Linked DNA regions of Homo sapiens: regions 1 and 2 are each linked to region 3. Evidence: promoter capture Hi-C in 16 types of primary human blood cells and fetal thymus (Javierre and others, 2016). All regions are on one chromosome and are shown on one strand. Each heading gives the region's core, a stretch centred on a gene start or on the middle of the fragment in contact. The rest is flanking DNA. Distances are from core to core; before and after follow the strand shown. Region 1 overlaps U2SURP (U2 snRNP associated SURP domain containing). Region 2 overlaps RASA2 (RAS p21 protein activator 2). Region 3 holds the start of XRN1 (5'-3' exoribonuclease 1).

Region 1 (3,317 bases), core at 110-2,609, 580 kb before region 3:
GATGCTCAAGTTCCTGATTGAAAATGGCATAATATTCACCTGTAACCTATCCTCATCCTCCCATCTGTTAAATCATCTCTAGGTTACTTACAATACCTAATACAATGTAAATGCTATGTAGAGTTTTCATACTATATTGTTTAGAAAATGACAAGGAAAAAAGTCTGTACAGGTTCGGTACAGATACAATTTTTCTTCTCAAATATTTTCAATTCATGGTTGGTTGAATTCATGGATAAGGAACCCACAGACATGGAGGGCTGACTGTACTTCTTATTCTTGCAGGATGTTAACAAAACAATCCTCTTTTCTGAACTCCTTACCCTTAAATACTTTATTTCAGGAATATCAGTTATATCATTATACTTACAATTTTCTATAATATGAAGCATTAGCAACTTTGGCTGAAGAGTTGTACAAAACATCAGAAACCAAATATAATCTGGCAATCTATAATATCAAAAGATAACACAAAATAGGTTAATATAAGGCTAATGTTTAGCTATAATTTAATTATGGCTACTAATTAGAAGAGTTATATGAAGCTCAGTATCACCACAACTATGACTCTGGCAGAGATGAAATTTGTTAACCCATTTACATTTCAACTTGTTTGTTAACTTGTATGTTAATGAACCTAAATTTCCAAGCAGAAATAACATAAGACTGCATGGGAAAAATCTCATCAGTCAAGTGCTTTGTGCAAAAAGGAAACCAATTCTAATCCCAAAAGACGTCAACTATCTCCCCTTTTCTTAAAATTCATTCCCATACCTTTTTAGGAAGGGGTGTCTTTAAGATGGACAACGACTCAGTAATGCAATCCACTATTTCTTCAGCAGCTTCAGCATTATTAAGACAGAAAACCATTGCATCTCCAATATCATTTTTCCTTGGAGTTAATCCCCGCAAGATTTCTTCCAATTTATCCCTCTGTCTGAACATAAATTGTTTTAACTTATAAATATTTAGATACAATTTCAAATGCCATTGTAGCTTTTGCTCACAAACTAATTTCTTTAAAACCTACTCACATAAAATAATTCTGAAGACTGTAATACATTCAGTCTGATTTGTGTTGTGTCCCCCAAAATTGTTACAATTTTTTGAAGAATTTATATAAGAATACTCTGTAGAATAAGATTCCAATTATGTTTTCAGCTTACAAATTAAGTAAATTTAAAATCATACGCATTTCTTCAAGCGTCTTTAAGAGCACCCCAGTCTTACCATCCCATGATACTGAAGAACTTTCATGTTCTTTACTCCCCTTCTTTGAAGGAAGTCTATTACTTTAACACTTCTGCCTGGGATTACGACAGGCTAATTTTTTCTGTAAAGGAAAAGACTGGCTGGGTGCGGTGGCTCATGCCTGTAATCCCAGCACTCTGGGAGGCCAAGGTAGGCGGATCACAAGGTCAAGAGATCAAGACCATCCTGGCCAACATGGTGAAACCCTGTCTGTACTAAAAATATAAAAATTAGCCAAGTGCAGTGGCAGGCACCTATAATGCCAGCTACTCGGGAGGCTGAGGCAGAAGAATTGCTTGAACCTGGGAGGCAGAGGTTGCAGTGAGCCAAGATCGTGCCACTGCATGCCAGCCTGGGTGACACAGCAACACTCCATCTCAGGGGAAAAAAAAAAAAAAGATTACAAATATTTTAGGCTTTGCAGGCCATATGATCTCTATCCCCCTGCTGGCATAGCACCAAAGCAGCCAGACAACATGTAGGGAAGGGAATTGACTGTATTCCAGTAAAACTTTATTTTCCAAAACAGGAGGCAGCCATATTTAGCCTATGAGCTGAGTTTGCAGATCCTAGGATTACAGTGATTATGAACATACATCTTCAGAAGTAAATACACTCAAACAGTATCACACTCCATTGCCAAATGCTCTCATAGGCAATGAATCAATGCAACAAGTATTAAGATTTATAGACTGCAGTGAAGTACATACAGGCATATCTCAAAGAGACGGATTCAGTTACAGACTACTGCAATAAAGCAAATATCACAATATAGCCAATCACATAAGTTTTTTGATTTCCCAGTGCATGTAAAAGTTATGTTTATACCATATTGTAGTCTATTAAGTATGCAATAGCAGTATGTCTAAAAAAACAATGTACACATTACTTTAAAAATACTTTCTTGTTAAAAATGCTAACAATCATCTGAACTCTCAGTGAGTCATAGCATTTTTGCTGGTGGAAGGTTTTGCCTCAATGTTGATGGCCAACTGATCAGGGTGGTGGTAGCTGAAGGTTAGGGTGGTGGTAGCTGAAGGTTAGGGCGGTGGTAGCTGAAGGTTGGGGTGGCTGCAGCAATTTCTTAAACAATAAAGTTTACCGCATCAACTGACATTTCTCATCACAGGGGATTTCTCTGCAGCATGAGTTGTTGTTTGTTAACATTTTACCCAGAGGAGAATGTCTTGCCAAACTGTAGTCAATCCTCTCAAACCCTGTACTACTTTATCAACTAACTTTATATATATTCTAGATCCTTTCATTTCAACAATGTTCACAGCTTCTTCATCAGAAATACATTCCATCTCAAGAAACCACTTAATTTGCTCATCCCTAAGAAGCAACTCCTCATTTATTAAAGTTTTATCATGAGATCACAGCAATTCAGTCCCATCTTTGAGCTCTACTTCTAATTCTAGTTCCCTTGCTATTTCTACCATATCTGGAGTTACTTCCTCTACTGAAGTCTTAAATCCCTCAAAGTCATCTATGAGGGACTAACTTCTTCCAAGCTCCTGTTAATGTCGATTTTTATAGGCAAAAAAACTGAAACGGATTTTTAAGATTTTTTTAAATTTCTTTTTAATAGAAATGGGGTCTCACTATATTGCTCAGGCTGGTCTTGAACTCTTGGCCTCATGCTATCCTCCTGCCTCGGCCTCCCATAGTGCTGGGATTACAGGTGTGAGCCACCACACCTGGCCCACAAATGTTCTTAATGGCATTTGGAATGATAAATGCTTTCCACAAGGTTTCTGACTTTTTCCCAGACCCACTGGAGGAATCACTATCTATGGCAGCCACAGCCTTATGAAATATATTTCTTAAATAATAAGACTAAAAGGTCAAAATTACTCCTTGATCAATGGGATAGAGAATGGATAATGTGTTAACAGGCATGAAAACAACTTAATCTCTTTGCACATCTCCATCAGAGATCTTCAGTGATCAGGTACATTGTCAATGAGCAGTAATATTTTGAAAAAAATCATTTTATTGAGCAGGTCTCAACAGTGGGCTTAAAATATTCAGTAAACCATGCTGTAAACAGATATGCTGTCATC
Region 2 (2,958 bases), core at 55-2,554, 950 kb after region 3:
CCCTTCAGAGTACATCAGATTGCTGCAGGGTATGAAGAAACAAAAACAAAAAAAGGAGGGGGGACTGTCAAGAACTACTGAAAAGAAAAAAGTTATGTAGCTGTTATTTCCTTCCTTAGTGGCTCCTTAACTGTCATCTTGAAAACACCACTGGAAAGTTACACATTTGTGACATTAATCAGACAGAGAATGAGAAATAGTACCAATAGGCATATGGTGACTGCTGGAATATCTACCACTAAGCAGAGTTTTCCAATGCATAAATTAACATGGTGAGATAACTCAGTTGTCAAGCAATTTTCCTCACTCCTGGCAAATGACTTGTATCTGTAAAATAATCCAAGAGTCTATAATCCCACTCGATTGGTAATCTTTAAAAAAACAACACATTGGCCAGGCACGGTGGCTCATGCCTGTAATCCCAGCACTTTGGGAGGCCGAGGTGGGCGGGTCAGGAGATCGAGACCATCCTGGCTAACATGGCGAAATGCCGCCTCTACTAAAAACACAAAAATTAGCTGGATGTGGTGGCGTGCACCTGCAGTCCCAGCTAATCGGGAGGCTGAGGCAGGAGAATTGTCGAACCTGGGAGGTGGAGGTTGCAGTGAGCTGAGATCGCACCACTGCACTCCAGCCTGGTGACAGAGGGAGACTCCGTCTCAAAAAAAAAATCAACACATTAAATAACTCCTACCAGAAATCTGGTTCTGCCTAAGAACAAGGCACTATGATAAAATGAGGTAGTACCAGTGAGCAAACACTTGAGTGGGCACAGGACTCTAGGAATATGACACAGTTTGGGTGGCTAGCCGAGACTCAGTGAAGCAAAGAACTGTTTTTTCGTGTGTGTGTGTGTGGCTATAAAACCTGAACTATATATAAGTACAATTCCACATAAATAAGGCAATCCTGTATAGTGGTATTATATCACAAGGGTTTTTGTGGGTATAAAACCTGAACTATATATAAGTACAATTACACATAAGTAAGACAATGGCTAGTGACAAGACAAAGTCAAAGTAAACGCATAAATACCACTGCAACTCCTCAGTGATAAAGTCTACAGAACATAATCGGGGCTAGTTGCTGCATGGAAGTCATGTGCACAATAACTATCATACAGTTATCTACACTGCTATCATATTAATCACTTTTCACTGAAGCTTAATCTAGAACAAGAAGTTAGGAAACTACTATACACGAAAAGGCAAGTTTCACAAGGTATTGCCAGGAAGTGTCTATGGGTTATATAGATACGTCACCAAGTTGCGGGCAGGATCTTCCTGTGGTTTGCCTTGCCCACTTCCGGTTTCAGTTTTGAATGTGTGCTGATCTACAAGCTCCCTACAGACCCCTTCCTCAAGTGGCAAACCAAACTCTGAAGTACATATGGCAGGAATCTCTTCTGGGCTAAGCCAATGGTACCTATAGCTACAAGAAGCTTAGCAAGGCTACCAAGGTGACCAAGAGAGCCTGGTATGACAAACAAAAGGAAGGCAAAAAGCCAGGTGCTGGCAGAACTCAGGGCTACATGGACAGGCTATATATGGGATATGGCTGTTATTTCTGGTGACAGCATCCAGGGGGCCAAAATAGGATTCATATTGATCTTCGCCCCCCCTCCACAAAAAAAAGACACCTAGACACATAAAGAAGTTACACCCATGAGCATATAAAGGTGTGTATGTGTATATCTGTGTGTGTGTATGTATGTGTGTACACATATCCAAGAACCACTCAAAAGTACATACAAACCCACATAAGCAGTTAGGCAGCTAAAATAATTACATTCATGAACCCCCAAAACAGGCCAGAAGATAAATTCTTATGGCATTCAAACATCATAATTTTATTGAATATCCACTACATTAGACCATAGCCAATTTAGGAGTAATTATCAACTTCTTGACAACATAAATGTATTCATCAATTCCTTCCAATATATCATCTCACAGGCAGCTTTGTAGAGAAAGGGATGTGGGCTTTGGTAACATAAAGACTTTCTGAAAACTTGGCTCTGCTCCCTTACAATCCTGAGCAAATAACCTCTGTCTGTTGCTTCTTCTCTAAAATAGGAATAACAATCTTCTTCATGAAATTGGATTACATGAAATATTTTGCAAAGTATCCTAACACAACATCTGGAAACCAGGAAATACTCAATAAACATTAGTTCACCCCATCTACCAAGAATATTTTATATAAAACTGTAAAATTCAAAACTAAAATTCTGTACCACTCACACAAATGTCATATTTTAAAGGATCCAAAATTTTCAGACCCTTTTTACCACATTTCTCTGAAACAATGTATTAAAATTTTAAAAAGTTTTTCTAACATAAACAATTAGTCAAACAGGCAAAGTATATAAGAATTTGCTGTATTATTTCTACTTTTTTTTTTTTTTTGAGACAGGGTCTCACTTTGTCACCCAGGCTGGAGTGCAGTGGTGCGACCTCAGCTCACCGCAGCCTCAACCTCCTGGGCTCAAGTGATTCTCTGGCCTCAGCATTCCAAGTATTAATAGCTAGGGCTGAAGACACACACCACTATGCCTGGCATTTTTTTTTTTTTTTCGTTTGTAGAAACGGAGTTTTGCCATGTGGCCCAGGCTGGTCTCAAACTCCTGAGCTCAAGCCATCCACCCTCCTCAGCCTATTCTTACAATTTGTAAGTTTGAAATTATATCAAAAGTTACCAAAAAAACTTAACAGAAAAGTTGACTTTATTTCTTCTATAGCACTCAAAATGTTACAAAACCTAACATTTGATTACTCTTGTTTTGCAGATAGGATAGTCTTCCAAAGTAGAGCAACAGAGACTGGCACAGCTTAAGATTAATACTGTATCAAGTTCATTTATATAAATAGTTACTTTTGATAATATAATATATAAATATACTCCCTATAGGAAATCAAACCATTACAGATAAGGCTAACTCGCTCTTTTTTTTTTTTT
Region 3 (2,879 bases), core at 179-2,678:
TGCCAGATGTATCTTGGTTGGACTCCATATATGTGAAATGAAATTATGTAAAAGAATATGTTAATAATCTAAAAGTAATGCATTTGGTATGAATCTGTGGTTGTATCTGTTCAATTCTAAAGTACAACATAAATTTACGTTCTCAGCAACTGTTATTTCTCTCTGATCATTAATTATATGTAAAATAATATACATTCAGTTATTAAGAAATAAACTGCTTTCTTAATACATACTGTGCATTATAATTGGAGAAATAGAATATCATGTGTTCTTATGGTCAAAAACTATATTTGCAAGAAACAAGCAAGTCTAATTTCATTTTACAACTTCTATTGATTTCCTTTTAAAAGTCCTAGCTATTGTAAGGATTCACTTGAAGAACAAAATTATATGGAATAAATACTGTGGGCAAGGCGTTGTGCCAGACTTGTGCATAGAGCTACCCTCTCCTGCCCTCCAGGAAGTGACAGTCTAGTAAGAGAGATATATAAATATAAATAGCATATCATTAAGTTCACTTAATAAAACTTTGTTTTAAAGTGTGATAGGGAAAAAATATAAGCCAAGAAGCGTGAATGTGAAAACGAAATAAACATTCTGTAATTTGTGTGATGCTGCCATACTGCAGTCCCAGAATGCAGAATCCAGTGGTCATGAAAGACAGCGATACTTAACATTTCCTGAGATCTTAAAATCCAAAAAGTATTAAATGTTTAAGGTTTTTCTGTAAGTTTTCATCCAGAAGACTTAAATACAAAGTAACGGGTTAATACATTCAAATAAGTGGAAAACTCTTACATTTAAAACTGATAATTTCACTTAAGTTGATAGAACTCTCCTTTGCTGTGCGGTTGAAAGTGTGATGGGGAAAAATATGATAAACCCGGATGCAAGAATGTCAAAACTAAACATTAAATGATTTCGTATCCAAGGTCTTATGTTAACAGTTGCGGGGGGCGGGTACATGGGAAATTTTTTTGAACAATTTGGAAAAGAACGTTTTTAAACGTATGTATTAAGAAACGTAAGTTTAAATTCCTCAGAGAAAAAAAATTATTGACAAAACAACAAACTAAGCCAAGTAAATCACCAGATCTTTCGAAATCTGAATGAAAAATACTGAGATTAGCAACCCTAGGAGACAAGCGGAACAAAAATCAGTGTTCGATACCCTTCCCACACCTTCGTACGGTTTTCATGCCACTTCCAAATCCACTTAGAAAGCACAACTCTATCATGGGGCATTTTCGCCCCTAAGTTGCAACACACCAGCAAACCTCCGCAGATTCCCTGACCGCCACTGGACAGTACCGCGGCCCCGGCCGCGCGAGGCCCGGAGGGCTAAGCCCCGCCCCTCGGACGGCCTCGGATCCTGCCGCTCTAGGCCCGCCGGGCGCTCTCTATGGTCGGCCGGGCGGTGTGTTGTCATCCGCGGAGCGACGACCGGAGGCTGCGGCGGAGCCCCGGCGGGGCGTTTGGTTTCGGTTTGGCCCTGACTGGGATTAGTGTTGACGATCGAAATGGGAGTCCCCAAGTTTTACAGATGGATCTCAGAGCGGTATCCCTGTCTCAGCGAAGTGGTGAAAGAGCATCAGGTGGGTGAGCGAGGGGCAACGGCTCAGAAAGCCGAGGACCCGGGGCTCCGCGGCCCTCTCCACCTTAGAGCTGGGGCTTTCGAGCCACCTCTTTCCCCTCGTCGTCTGGACGATTAGTGGCATTAGGGAGGGGGACGGAAGGTTTGAGGACGCCCGGATGAGCCGAAAGGGGCTAAGGACGCAGGTTGCCTGTGTGTGGACAGAGCCGCTGGGTTCACGGCTTCTCTGACAGCTCTTGCTTCTGCTGGTCCTTCCGCGACTCCGAAATGAAGTCCTGGGAAAGAACGCTTTTACTGTTCTCCGGTTTCCTCCCGGGGAGCTGCAAGTTGCCTTTTTCCTTACAGAGGCTGCGAAGCTGGAGTGGGTGTCCTCGTAGGTTCCCCCATCCCACCCAGAGCGGCAGACCCACTTACAGACGATAACAGCCGCTTCCGCACGCAGTCACCTTGTTTACTTTCCCTGATCTAGAGCGCGGCCCACCCGGCCCCCGGAGCCTAGACTTTCCGACGTGGCTGATGGTCATATTGGTGATGCCTTTTGTTACTTTCTGTTATTTCAAAAGCAGCACCAATCCCCTGTTGCCAAAACAAAAAACTCTTGGGCCAGCTGGGGAGTGGGGCGTAGGACCTTTTATTTGGAGGCCTCACTGTGTGACAGAGGGGGTTGGGAAACGAATTGATAGAACATTAATACTACTAATAATATTTGGCATGTACTGACCCCAGGACAACGTTAATGTGTAGATTCCGAAAACGTAGTTTATATATTGGAACTGTGGAAAGAGAGGAGAAAGCAGTCGTCTATTAGGTAAACTAGACTTTGGGTGATACTTTGGTGTTTGTCACATTTAATGAATTTGATCTCTTTTCTGATGCTTTACAGAAAAAAAGCTTGAAATTTGTGTAGCTGATTGAATCAGTTGTGATGGGTAGTATTGTAAATAGCCTATTAAATTATGGTTTAATCGGCATTTACGAACATGAAGGTAGTTTACTTCTGGAAAGGAGTTTTTGTTGCTGGATTCCAATCAGATTTGGTAGATGAGAAATAGACTACAAAAAGTTTCCAAGGTTAGCTTATCTTGAATTTATTTGAAACATAGATTGAGTTAGGTTTAGAGAGGTATTTTTTTCCCCCGGGGAGGGCTAAAAAGGAAACCAGTACATTGCAGAAATGGAGACAACCAACTTTGGCTTTTCTTGCATCCTTCAGTCAGTACCTGCTATATATCAGTCACTTTATCTCTAAAGTGCAAAAATAATGCGATTGTTATTCGTGATGATT

What was found. Contacts are between HindIII fragments. The CHiCAGO score rates a contact against its expected background, and 5 or more counts as called.
Region 1: a fragment that was not itself captured here is called in contact with the fragment with the promoter of XRN1 in region 3 in 1 of 17 cell types (naive CD8 T cells); the score reaches 6.2 in naive CD8 T cells.
Region 2: a contact is called between a fragment that was not itself captured here and the fragment with the promoter of XRN1 in region 3, in 1 of 17 cell types (fetal thymus). The highest score is 7.3, in fetal thymus.

What each region holds. Positions count from the first base shown.
Region 1 is chr3:143,030,404-143,033,720 of GRCh38, reverse strand. It overlaps U2SURP (U2 snRNP associated SURP domain containing), which reads right to left. Exons shown (of 28, transcript NM_001080415.2): 17 at 775-937; 18 at 371-450. Among named protein-coding and RNA genes, the nearest start is that of U2SURP, 30 kb to the right of the region's middle. The HindIII fragment of the contact is 4,237 bases long and covers 1-3,317 here.
Region 2 is chr3:141,497,322-141,500,279 of GRCh38, reverse strand. All of the region lies in intron 1 of RASA2 (RAS p21 protein activator 2), which reads right to left. Among named protein-coding and RNA genes, the nearest start is that of RASA2, 12 kb to the right of the region's middle. The HindIII fragment of the contact is 278 bases long and covers 1,166-1,443 here.
Region 3 is chr3:142,446,586-142,449,464 of GRCh38, reverse strand. It overlaps XRN1 (5'-3' exoribonuclease 1), which reads left to right and starts at 1,428. Exons shown (of 41, transcript NM_001282857.2): 1 at 1,428-1,595. The coding sequence starts at 1,521. ATR (ATR checkpoint kinase) reads left to right here. Exons shown (of 47, transcript NM_001184.4): 47 at 1-230. The coding sequence ends at 36. RefSeq lists an enhancer at 1,431-1,710. The HindIII fragment of the contact is 7,800 bases long and covers 1-2,487 here.